3 separate regions of the Homo sapiens genome follow, and all the other regions are linked to region 2. Evidence: promoter capture Hi-C in 16 types of primary human blood cells and fetal thymus (Javierre and others, 2016). All regions are on one chromosome and are shown on one strand. Each heading gives the region's core, a stretch centred on a gene start or on the middle of the fragment in contact. The rest is flanking DNA. Distances are from core to core; before and after follow the strand shown.

Region 1 (3,446 bases), core at 366-2,865, 130 kb before region 2:
TTTGAAAGTTTGCCAAGCACTTTCCCATAGCTCTCCAGGAGGCAGAATAGCCTACTGGTTAGGAACACAGGCTCAGGGCCCATACTGCCTGGCTCTGCCATTCCACTGCTGTGCGATCTTGGGTAAGTTACTTAGCCTCTGTGCCTCAGGTTCCTCATCTTTAAAATGGGAATAATCACAGGATCTACATCTTAAGGCTGTTTTCAGATTAAGTTGGCTAATGTTTAGGCTCCCTAAAAGCAGAGATTTTTGTCTTTTATTCATTGCCATGTCCCTAGGGCCTAAACAATCCCTGGCACCTGGCAGGTACTCAACAGATATTTATTAAATATATATAAAGGGCTTAGGATGGGAGCTGGCACTTAGCACAACAAGTGTTAGTTTTTGTTGTTATCTTTTGCATTCTCACAATAGTTCCAACAGGAGCATTCTGAATTTCATGCATGTTAGTGTTGCTCCTCCTTGTAAGGTTCAAGTTCTAAGTCAAGGTACTGAAGGAATATGCAACAGACTTAAAATGGAGGGCAAAAGTTTGGGCCACAGAGGATTAGGAGTACAGCTGTCAAATATTAGTAAAAGCATTCGTTCATCCATTCATTCAGTCATCTATTCTACAAATATTTCACAAATACTCCTAAGGGCCAGGCCCTGAGCTGAGAGCTGGGGATGTATTGAAGACAAGATAGACAAGGGTTTCTACATTTGAGGAGCTTAACTTGTAATGGAAGGAGACTAGCAAAAACAAGTAAAGATCTAAAAAGCACTTATTAGCACTTATTCAGATAGCAATAAGTGTTATGAAGAAAATCAAGTAGTATAATGGGATAGAGAATGGCTGGGGTTGTGTATGTGTTGGGGTTGCTTTAGTTTATGGTCAGAGAAGGCATCTGAGGTAGGAACACTGGCACTTTTCTGGGGCGTCTTGGTCTCAGGTCAAGGACCTCTGTTGAGAGTTGGCCTGTGACACCATATCATCACCACCTCATCCTTCTGCCTAAGGCAGGGGTAAGCTGCTCAGTGTAGTTCTGGGGATCTTTACGTGGAGGTTTAGTGTGAAGGGCTGGAGAGAAGGGGGCTATGAACATGTGGCGCCTGCATAGGAAGGTTCTGGCATTAGTTGTCCTCTGGCAAAACCTATTGGTTGCTCTAGGTTAAACGATGGTCAGTGGCCTTTCAGCTCCCCCTTCATCTTTCTGCACTCTCAGGGAGGAGGTGTCTGGCCGTGGGGTCCTCTCCACTGCTGATCTATACTCAATGCCCTCATGCCCCATGCTCATTCATGACACCACCTTCACACATGCAAACACTGCCTCATCTTTCAAGATAGCTCAGACACCATCACCAGTCACACTGGAGGGCCCTTATTCATTACCTGTTTGAGCATCTCCAGAGCATAGTATGGAATGGATACCTAATAGGTGCTTAATAAATGAAGGAATAAATGAGTGACTGTTGTTCCTTCTGCTTCCTCAGCTGACTGGCTCATTCCCACTCATGCATCAAGACTCAGCTCACACATCATCTTACATGAGAAGCCTCCCTCAACCTCCTTGTGTCTGACCTGGGGAGCTCTTGTTCATCCTTGATGTTCCCCTTGACTTCCTCAGCCAGAATTTGGCCCTCCCACCTCTGAATGCTCCACCACATTCTATTACCCTCTATCGTATCCATCGCTCTACAGGCACTGTCTGCTACTGTCCTGTCACCTCCCCTAATCTCTGATTTTCTCAGGCAAGGACTGTGTTTTGGTCATCTCTATATCCCCAGCACTAGCCCCTAGAGGGCGCTCAATAAATATTTGTGAAATTAATGGGGAAAAAACCGTGAATGAATTGTTTGTCAATTTTGCTTAGAGTGGTGTGCTGGGGCTGGCTTGTAGTGGTTTGCGAGAATCAATTGTTAAATATTTAGGAAACGTATGAGCCAGTTGTTAAATACAGCCATCATTAAAAATTAAATTATATGAGAAAACAGAAGACAAACTGAAATTGAGAGACATTCTACAAAATAAATGACCAACTAAATACAATATGGGTCCTGGATTGGATCCTAGAATGGAAGAAAGACTTCAGTAGAAAAGCTGGTGAACTCCAAATAAGTTTGTACTTTAGTTAATGTTGTACTAAGTTTAATTTCTCAGTTTTGATCAATGTTTTATAATTATGTAAGATGTCAACATAAGGGGAAGCTGGGTAAAGGGTACACAGAAACTCTCTGTACTGTTTTTACAACTCTTCTATAAGTCTAAAATTATTTCAACATTTAAAAAAAAATTGTCAAGTTCCAATACTTCTTGGTTGTTTCACTTTCTTCTTACTCATTAACATAAATGAAAATATCAACCATCATTCATTTAGGAACTGCACTTGCTCTTCTGTTATGGCCGAAGTTTGGCTATTGATATGTGTTCAGCAAAAATCAATGAAAGCATTATGGGAGAATCCATTGGTTATATGGAATTTATAATAAAGAGTATTATATATTTCAGTATTATCTGTAAATTGAGCACTTCACATTCTTATATAAGTAAATTTATAATAAACCTATGTATGTATGTGTATATTTATATATACGTTTGTGCATTTTTTTTGAGAGCTGGTTGCTGAACACTTACCAGAACACCACCGGTCCTACATATGAATTATGATCTCATCAAACACATTGAAGGAAAGAAAAGAACATTGCCCAGCACCTTCTCTGTGCGAGGCTGTACTATCCCTTTGTGTTCATCATTACAGGTGCTCTTTACCTCAACTCTATGAAGTGAGGGTATTGTGGTCTCCATTTTACAGATAAGGATATTAAGGCTAAGAGAGGTTAAATGACTAGACTAAGGTCAAGTATTGGTATACAGTGAGCCAGCATTAAACTACATTCATCTGAGTCCAAAGCCAATTGTATTAGTATCATATTGCTGCTGTAACACATTACCGCAAATTCAGTGGCTTAAAACAACACAAATTTATTATCTTACAGTTCTGGAGGGCAGACGTCTGAGATTGGTCTCACTGGACTAAAATCAAGATGCTAGCAGGGCTGCATTCCTTCTTAGGACTCTACGGGACAATCCTTTTCCTTGCCTTTTCCAGCGTGTAGTGGCTGCCTGCATTCCTTGACTTCAAAACCAAAAGTGGCCATTCGAGTCTTTCTCACATCCCATCACCCTGATTCTGCTTCTATACATCTCCTTCTCTGACTCTGACTCTCCAGCCTCCCGCTTTCACTTTATAAAAACCCTCATGATTACATTGAGCCCACCCAGATGAGATGGGCAGCTTCTCCCCATTTCAGTCAATGTCAGCTGATAAGTAACTTTAACTCCACCTGCAAACCTTAGTTCCCCTTGTTATGTAACTGAACACATTCACAGGTTCCAGAGGTTAGGATGTGGACATCGTTGTGGGGGCTATAATCCTGTCTATCACCCTTGTGCTTTTTCCATGACC
Region 2 (3,528 bases), core at 4-2,503:
TTCTGTTGACCATAAGAGCTCTTTGCGGAAGAATTCCGACAGGCCTTTGAGGAATTGGTTTTGGAGGCGGCAGTCATCCCAAGACAAGAATTGGGCCAGGAACTGAAAAGCATCTGCATAGCTGCCGAGGGTACAGTGGCCCTGCTTGAGCTTGCGAATGGCCTTTTTAGCCACACGTGGGGGGATGGGGCCACAGAATTCCTTACGGATTTCATCCAGGAAGCGCGGGAAGTTGGCATGCAAGGGGCTTCCTTCCTGGGTGACCGAGATGGCCCAGTCCTTGGCTTCGCCAGTGAAAAAGGAGATCAGAAAGGCCACCCGCTCGGCGCCCCCGGGGAAATGAACCTCATGGTCGGCTATGAAGGTCTCTAGCTGCATCAGGAATTCAGCCAGGTAGACTGGGTCTCCTGAAAAGGGCTCTATCTCAGGCCGCTCCAGCGGTGCCAGAGGGGGTTGCGGGGGCGGTTCCTTTGACGCGGGCGGAGGCAGCGCCGGCGGGGGCGGGATGGGCAGCAGAGGGGGGTCAGCGGGCCCGTCGGGGGTGCTGCGATCCTGGATCACGTTAATCAAAAGATCATCCGAGATACAGTCGGGCTCCGCGCGTGGGGGAGGCCGGCACAAGAAGGGCAGTTCTCCCCCGGGAATGACTTCGATCTCACTGAGCGCGAACTCCAAGTTCTCCTCCGCAAGGACGGGCACTATGGGTACTGGCCAGCGGATGTAGCTGGAGACATTGCCCCGCAAGGAATTAACCTCGGCCAGGGCTCTCCCGAGCTGGAGGCCCAAATTGGCATTCTCCCCGCGAAGGGCATTTAATTCTTCGCGCAGGGCCACATTCGCCATGCGGAGGCTGTTGAGATTTCCTGACGCCTCAGACATCTCGACAAGCCCAGGGGCCCTGGGGCTCCGTGGTGGGGAAAGGGGAACTGGAACTACGGGCGGCCGGAGGAGGCCGAAATGCGGCGGCGGGGCTCGGGAGGGACCGAAGTGCGGCAGCGGGGCACGGGCCAGGCCGGGCCACACCCACCGGGGCGAGCTCGGAGGGCGGCGCTCTGGGCGGAGGGCCCGGCGGCTCGGCCCAGGGCGCGTTACCTCGTCGCCGGGGCCGGAGAGGGCGGGCGGAGGCACGGGGCCCGGAGGCGCCAGGCGGAGGATGCGGGCGACACGGTGGCGGCGGCGACCGCGCGACCGGGCGGGCGGGCGGGCAGGGGCGAGCGGAGCGGGAGGGAGCGGACTGCGGCAGGATCTGTCGAGGAAAAATCTTGCGGCCGGCGATTCCCCGCCTTTTAAGCGCAGCCTCGCACTCCCCCCACCCCACGCAGGGGCGGGCCTTGGGGAACCGCGGGCGCCCACTGGCCGCCGCGCGCCGCTCCCCTCCAGCTCGCCTGCGCCTCTCACTGACTCTCTCCTTCCCTAGCTGCAGCTAACTCGGGTCGGGAAAATGCGACAGCGACTGCCCACTCGAGGTCGTCATGGCGACAGCCAGTGAACGTGTTCCTCTCCTCGGGCAGGCCCCCGAGTGTAGAGGAGCTGCTTCGGGAGGCGCAGCTCAATCTCCAGAGCCTGTTGCAAGGTACCGAGAGGGAGGGGGGCTGCGGCCGGAGCCCAGAAGCGAGATGCGCAGCGGCAGGAGGGAGGCAAAGAAGAAAGAGGACAGGGACCAGCAAGATAAAGACAGAGAGTTTAAAAACAATCGACAAAGCAGTTTCCAGCTTTCACCTTTCAGCCTAATGATTCTGAAAGAGGCTATTTCCAGGGCTGTTTCCCCCCATCCCCAGCCCCTTTTTTCAGCTCAGTAGCCCATGGGGAAACAAGGACAGAGACTGAGGCAGGGCCATAAGTTATGCCATTCACCGAGAGCTGGGTGGGAGACTCCCACAATGTGGGCCTACATTCCCTCCAGCCCCCCTCTTGCCACATCGCCCATGCCTTTGGGATCCTGGCACCAGAAGACAAAGGGGGCATCTGCAGGATCTCCCACTCTGGGCTTCACTCACTCTGCTCTTGCAATAACCCCTGGATAGCTACTGCCTCACCAAAGTAAGCCCAATACACAGCACCCAGAGGTCACCTATTTTGTCCCCCCTAACCAAGCCTGAGCTTCTCGATGTAAAGAATCACATCTTGCTACCCTTAGGTTTCCAGAAGCACCTGGCACAAGGCTGGATTCCCTCCCCACCTGCCAAGAGGTGCTCAGTGGATGTTGAGCATGAAAAGAGGTCTTGTCAGCACTCCTTTATCTATACTAATAAAGGTTAACTCTAATGGCGAATAGAAAACTGCTGATGGGCCACCAACAGGATGACAGCCATAACCCCCACCCCCTACCAGGGCAGTGGTGACCTTGGAAAAGCAAGATGCCAAGGGACACCATGAGCCTTGTGTTCAGATAACAAAGGACTTGCCACACAGAAAAAGAGTCGATGTGCTCTGTGTTGCTACCATGGCAGAATTAGGACCAGTGGGTGGAAACCCAGAAGGAGGCACATTCCACCTCCAGATAAGGAAGAACTTTCTGACACACCTGACAGCCCCAACTGTCCGTGGAAGAAATGAGCTGCCTTGGGAGGGAGGGAGCTCCCCTTCCCTGCAGGTGTGTGCGCTGAGGCTGAAGAAACACCTAGAAGGGCTGCTGAGGAGGGAGTCTGGGCACAGAATGAGGCGTTGGACCAAAGAACCCCAAGAGCAACCCCAAATCTCTGTGATTCTGAGTCTTTGTTCAGTGTACATACAGCATGAATGTCCCTTCTCTACTCTCACTTTCTTCATGTATTCTCATCAAATTCATCACTTCAATCAACCCTATTCAAATCTTGTGCATCCTTACTCACTGATGATGCCGCTGAACTTCTGCCTCTTTTATGCTGTTACCTCCTCCTTCCCTCTCCTTCACCTTAGCCCTCCTAGACCTGACATCACTTACAGCGGGACTAAGGTGCAGGGAACACGGCCCACAAAGGCTCAAGTAAAAGTTCTTGACATCCAAGAAAGAACTCCAGATTGGACTTCCTGGTGTAAATCTCTTCTTGCTTCACACAGGTCATTTCCTTGGTAGGGTCGCAGAAAACCTTAAGAGCTGCAGGGCTTCAAAGAGAGGAACTTGCAGTCCAAAGTAGCAAAAGGTGTCTGCATTCTGAGCCTCTTTTCGTAACTGAGCACTCAAGGTGGGGATCATTGAGATAAGGGCTTGGTCCCCAAACCACCACAGCATGAATTTATTGACTTTCTCTTCTCCTCGATCCTCATGGTCCTGGGAAGCAAGCACTTTTCCATTTCCAAATCCAGTGGCTCAAACACCTGGAAATAGCCTAAAGAAAATGCAAGTCAGGCCTGGCAGCTAGAGCAGGAGTCCTGGCTCATGGCCCTTCCCCGGCCCAGCGCTCGGCCATGGCACCCTAGAGTGTGTGTCTCCACTGTGCTATTTTTCAGAAGAATATGAGGAACAGTACTCGGAGGCCAGACTTGTGGGGCAGACCTTCCGCTCTTCTGATGAGGCCACTAAGCCCACCCCCAACCCAAGGCCCCAGT
Region 3 (3,632 bases), core at 1,000-3,499, 150 kb before region 2:
CATATGTGCATAAGGATAAGTTGAAAGAGTCAATGAACAGAATGAAGCCTACTTGCAATCCAGTGCAGCACTGTGAGTCTGGGCTTTGGAGACAGATGGGCCTGATGCAAATCCTAGCTCTGCTTCTTGTCAGTTGGGCAATGTGGGACAAGTTAATCTGTCTTACTTTGATCAGCTATAAAAGGAGGATAGTAGAAAGATATACCGTGAAGAGTTACTGCAAAAATAAGAGGTAGCATATGTGAGTGCCTGATAGAGACCTAATCAATGATTTTTGTAATTATTATTTTCCCTAGACCCAATTCTCAACTAGGGTGTTGCCCCTTGAAATTAAAAAGGAGAATCTACATGCAAAAATGAATAATTTGGACTCCTAACCTTATATCATGTACAAAAGTTAGCTCAAAGTGGATCAACGACATAACTGTAAGAGCTCAAGCTGTAAAACCGTTAGAAGACAGTGTAGTTGTATATCTTTGTAACCTTGAATCAGGCAATGGTTTCTTAGATATAACACCAAAGGCACAAAAGACAAAAGAAAAACTAGGTAAATTGAACTTTATGAAAAGTAAAAAACTTTGTGCTTCAGAGGTTACCAAGAAAGGGAAAAGACAGCCCAAAGAATGGACAAAAGTTTTGTAAATCTTATGGCCAGGTACAGTGGCTCACGCCAGTAATCCCAGCACTTTGGGCCAAGGCGGGTGGATCACTTGAGGTCAGGAGTTCAAGACCAACATGGCAAACATGGCGAAACCCCATCTCTTTTTAAAATACGAAAATTAGCTGAGTGTGTTGGCACACACCTGTAGTCCCAGCTACTCAGGAGGCTGAGGCACAAGAATTGTTTGAACCCAGGTTGCAGTGAGCAGAGATCGTGCCACTGCACTCCAACCTGGGCAACAGAGCAAGACTCTGTCTCAAAAAAAAAAAAAAAAAAGAAGGTTTGCAAATCATATATCTAGTAAAGAACTTGTATCCAGAATATATAAAGAACTCTTAAAACTCAACAATAAAAAGACAAACAACTCAATTTAAAAATGAACAAAGATCTGAATAGACAGTTCTCCAAAGAAGATATACAAATGGCCAACAAGTACATGAAAAGATGTTCAACATCATTATCCATGAGGGAAATTTAAATCAAACCACATGAGATCCCACTTCCCACCCAATAGATTTGTTGTAATCAAACATACAAATAATAAGTGTTGACAAGGATGTGGAGTGACTGGAAATCTCAAATACCACTGGTAGGAACATAAAATGGTGCAGCCTCTATGGAAAACAGTACAGCAGTTACACAAAAGGTTAAACATATGACCCAGGTTACCGTATGACCCAGTAATTCCACTCTTAGGTACATACTCAAGAGAAATAAAAGCATATGTCCCCATAAAAAAAAGCTTGTACATAAATGTTCATAGGAGCATTATTTGTAATAGCCAAAAGATGGAAACAACCCAAATGTCCTTCAATGTGTGAGTGGATAAACAGTTGTGGTATATTCATATGATGGAACCAGTCATAAAAATGAATGAAGTACTGATATATGCTACAACATGGATGAACCTTGAAAACACTAGGCTAAGCAAAAGAAGCCAGACACAAAGCCCATATACTGTATGATTCCATTTCTATAAAATGCCCAGATTAGGCAAATCCATAAAGACAGAAAATAGACTAGTTGTTGCCAGGGGCTGGAGTGGGGAGGATAATAGAGAGCTAATAAGTTAGGGTTTCTTTTGGGGGGTGTGATGTTATGAAATATATATTTGGTCTTTGTCTCCATTTCCTGGCATACAACTCCGAAAATCCTTGGAGTCTCCAAAGTGATGTCTTTTTGTATGCCTATGAGTTGACTGATGGTTGGGTAGCCCAAGAATAGGGACTGGTCACTGGAAAGACCAAGGCATGAATAGAGGGTTGGGACTTTCAGCCCAACCTCCAGGGACGGGAGAGGGGCTGAAGGTGAAGTTGATCACCAATGGCCAATCATTTAAACAATCATGCTTACATAATGAAGCCTCCACAAAAACTCAAAAGAACAGGGTCCAGTGAGCTTCTGGATAGCTGAACACGTGAAGATTCATGGAGGGTGGCCTACCCAAGTAGAACATGGAAGTTCTGTGCCCCTTCCCACATACCTTCCTTGCTTGATGCATCTCTTCATCTGTATCATTTTTTATGTCCTTTATTATAGACCAGTAAATGTCAGTAAGTGCTTCCCTGAGTTCTGTGAGCTGCTTTAGCAAATTAATAGAAGAAAAGAGGGGGTAATGGGAACTCCAATTTGAAGCTGGTTGTCCAGAAGTTCCAGAGGCTAGAACTTGCAACTGGTGTGTGAAGAAGGGGGGACGCAGTCTTGGGGACTGAGCCTTCAACCTGTGGGATATGATGCTATCTTCAGGTAGATAGTATCAGAATTGAACTGGAAGACATCTGTGTCTACTGTAGAATTGATTGCTTATTTGGCGAATGGGGAGAGAAAATCCCACACATTTGGTTACAGAATTTTCTGTGTTGATTGTTGTTGTGGTGTGAGAACAGAGGAAAAACAGTTTGTTTTTCCACTATCACCGGGAAATGATCTAAAATTCACTATGATGATGGGTATACAACTCTGTGAATATACTAAAAAGCCATTGAATTGTCTGCTTTAATTGATTGAATTATATGCTACGCGAATTATATCTCAGTATAAATTTTGCTTGGTGCTATGTCTCACGCTGGTAATCCCAGCACTTTGGGAGGCCGAAGTGGGAGGATTGCTTGAGCCCAGGACTTCAAGACCAGCCTGGGCAACATAGTGAGACCCCACCTCTACAAAAAAAAAAAAAATTAAAATTAGCCAAGCCTGGTGGCACACACCTGAAGTTCCAGCTACTCTGGAGGCTGAGGTGTGGAGATTACTCTAGCCCAGGAGCTTGAGGGTGCAGTGAGCCATGATCACGCCACTGTTCTGTAGCCTAGGCAACAGAGTGAGACCCTGTCTCTAAAAAAAAAATAAAACTGTTAAAGGAAAAAAAAGGAATGAGAAAGGAACTACCCAGAGCCACCACAGTGGACTTGAAAAAGTTATGGTTATTTCTTGATGATAAGCTTAACAAGGGGTGGATTATTCATGCCTCCCCTTTTTAGACCTTATAGGGTAACTTCCTGATGTTGCCATGGCATTTGTAAACTGTCATGGTGCTGGTGGGAATGTAGCAGTGAGGATGACCGGAGGTCACTCTCATCGCCATCTTGGTTTTGGTGGGTTTTAGCCAGCTTCTTTACTACAGCCTGTTTTATCAGCAAGGGCTTTATGACCTGTATCTTGTGCCGACCCCCTATCTCATGCTGTGACTAAGAAGGCCTAACTTACTGGGACCGCAGCCCAGCAGGTCTCATCCTTATTTTACCCAGCCCCTATTCAAGATGGAGTTGCTGTGGTTCAAACACCTCTGACATTTCCCCCCTCACTTTTATAAGAGAACCCTTAATCCTAAGGGTTGCAGAGGGACAAAGATCCATCTTCTAATGAATAGCGGTGATGATATTCCTGTCTAACTATTAGATCTCTTGCAATCAGGGTAGAGAGGAGCTCAGTCAGAAAGCATTGGTATGTCATGGGCCATTCACAATTCTGAGTT

What was found. The method cuts DNA at HindIII sites, captures the fragments that hold promoters and counts their contacts. A CHiCAGO score of 5 or more calls a contact.
Region 1: a fragment that was not itself captured here is called in contact with the fragment with the promoter of RTL5 in region 2 in 17 of 17 cell types (neutrophils, naive B cells, activated CD4 T cells and 14 more); the score reaches 34.5 in neutrophils.
Region 3: a contact is called between a fragment that was not itself captured here and the fragment with the promoter of RTL5 in region 2, in 8 of 17 cell types (neutrophils, monocytes, naive B cells and 5 more). The highest score is 8.0, in neutrophils.

The regions. Positions count from the first base shown.
Region 1 is chrX:71,997,531-72,000,976 of GRCh38, forward strand. The region is part of intron 1 of NHSL2 (NHS like 2); the gene reads left to right. Among named protein-coding and RNA genes, the nearest start is that of NHSL2, 88 kb to the left of the region's middle. The HindIII fragment of the contact is 6,669 bases long and covers 1-3,446 here.
Region 2 is chrX:72,130,662-72,134,189 of GRCh38, forward strand. It overlaps RTL5 (retrotransposon Gag like 5), which reads right to left and starts at 1,254. Exons shown (of 1, transcript NM_001405151.1): 1 at 1-1,254. The coding sequence starts at 879. It overlaps NHSL2 (NHS like 2), which reads left to right. Exons shown (of 8, transcript NM_001013627.3): 2 at 1,418-1,573; 3 at 3,430-3,528. RefSeq lists silencers at 1,045-1,114, 1,275-1,334. The HindIII fragment of the contact is 11,603 bases long and covers 1-3,528 here.
Region 3 is chrX:71,980,618-71,984,249 of GRCh38, forward strand. The region is part of intron 1 of NHSL2 (NHS like 2); the gene reads left to right. Among named protein-coding and RNA genes, the nearest start is that of NHSL2, 72 kb to the left of the region's middle. The HindIII fragment of the contact is 1,696 bases long and covers 1,402-3,097 here.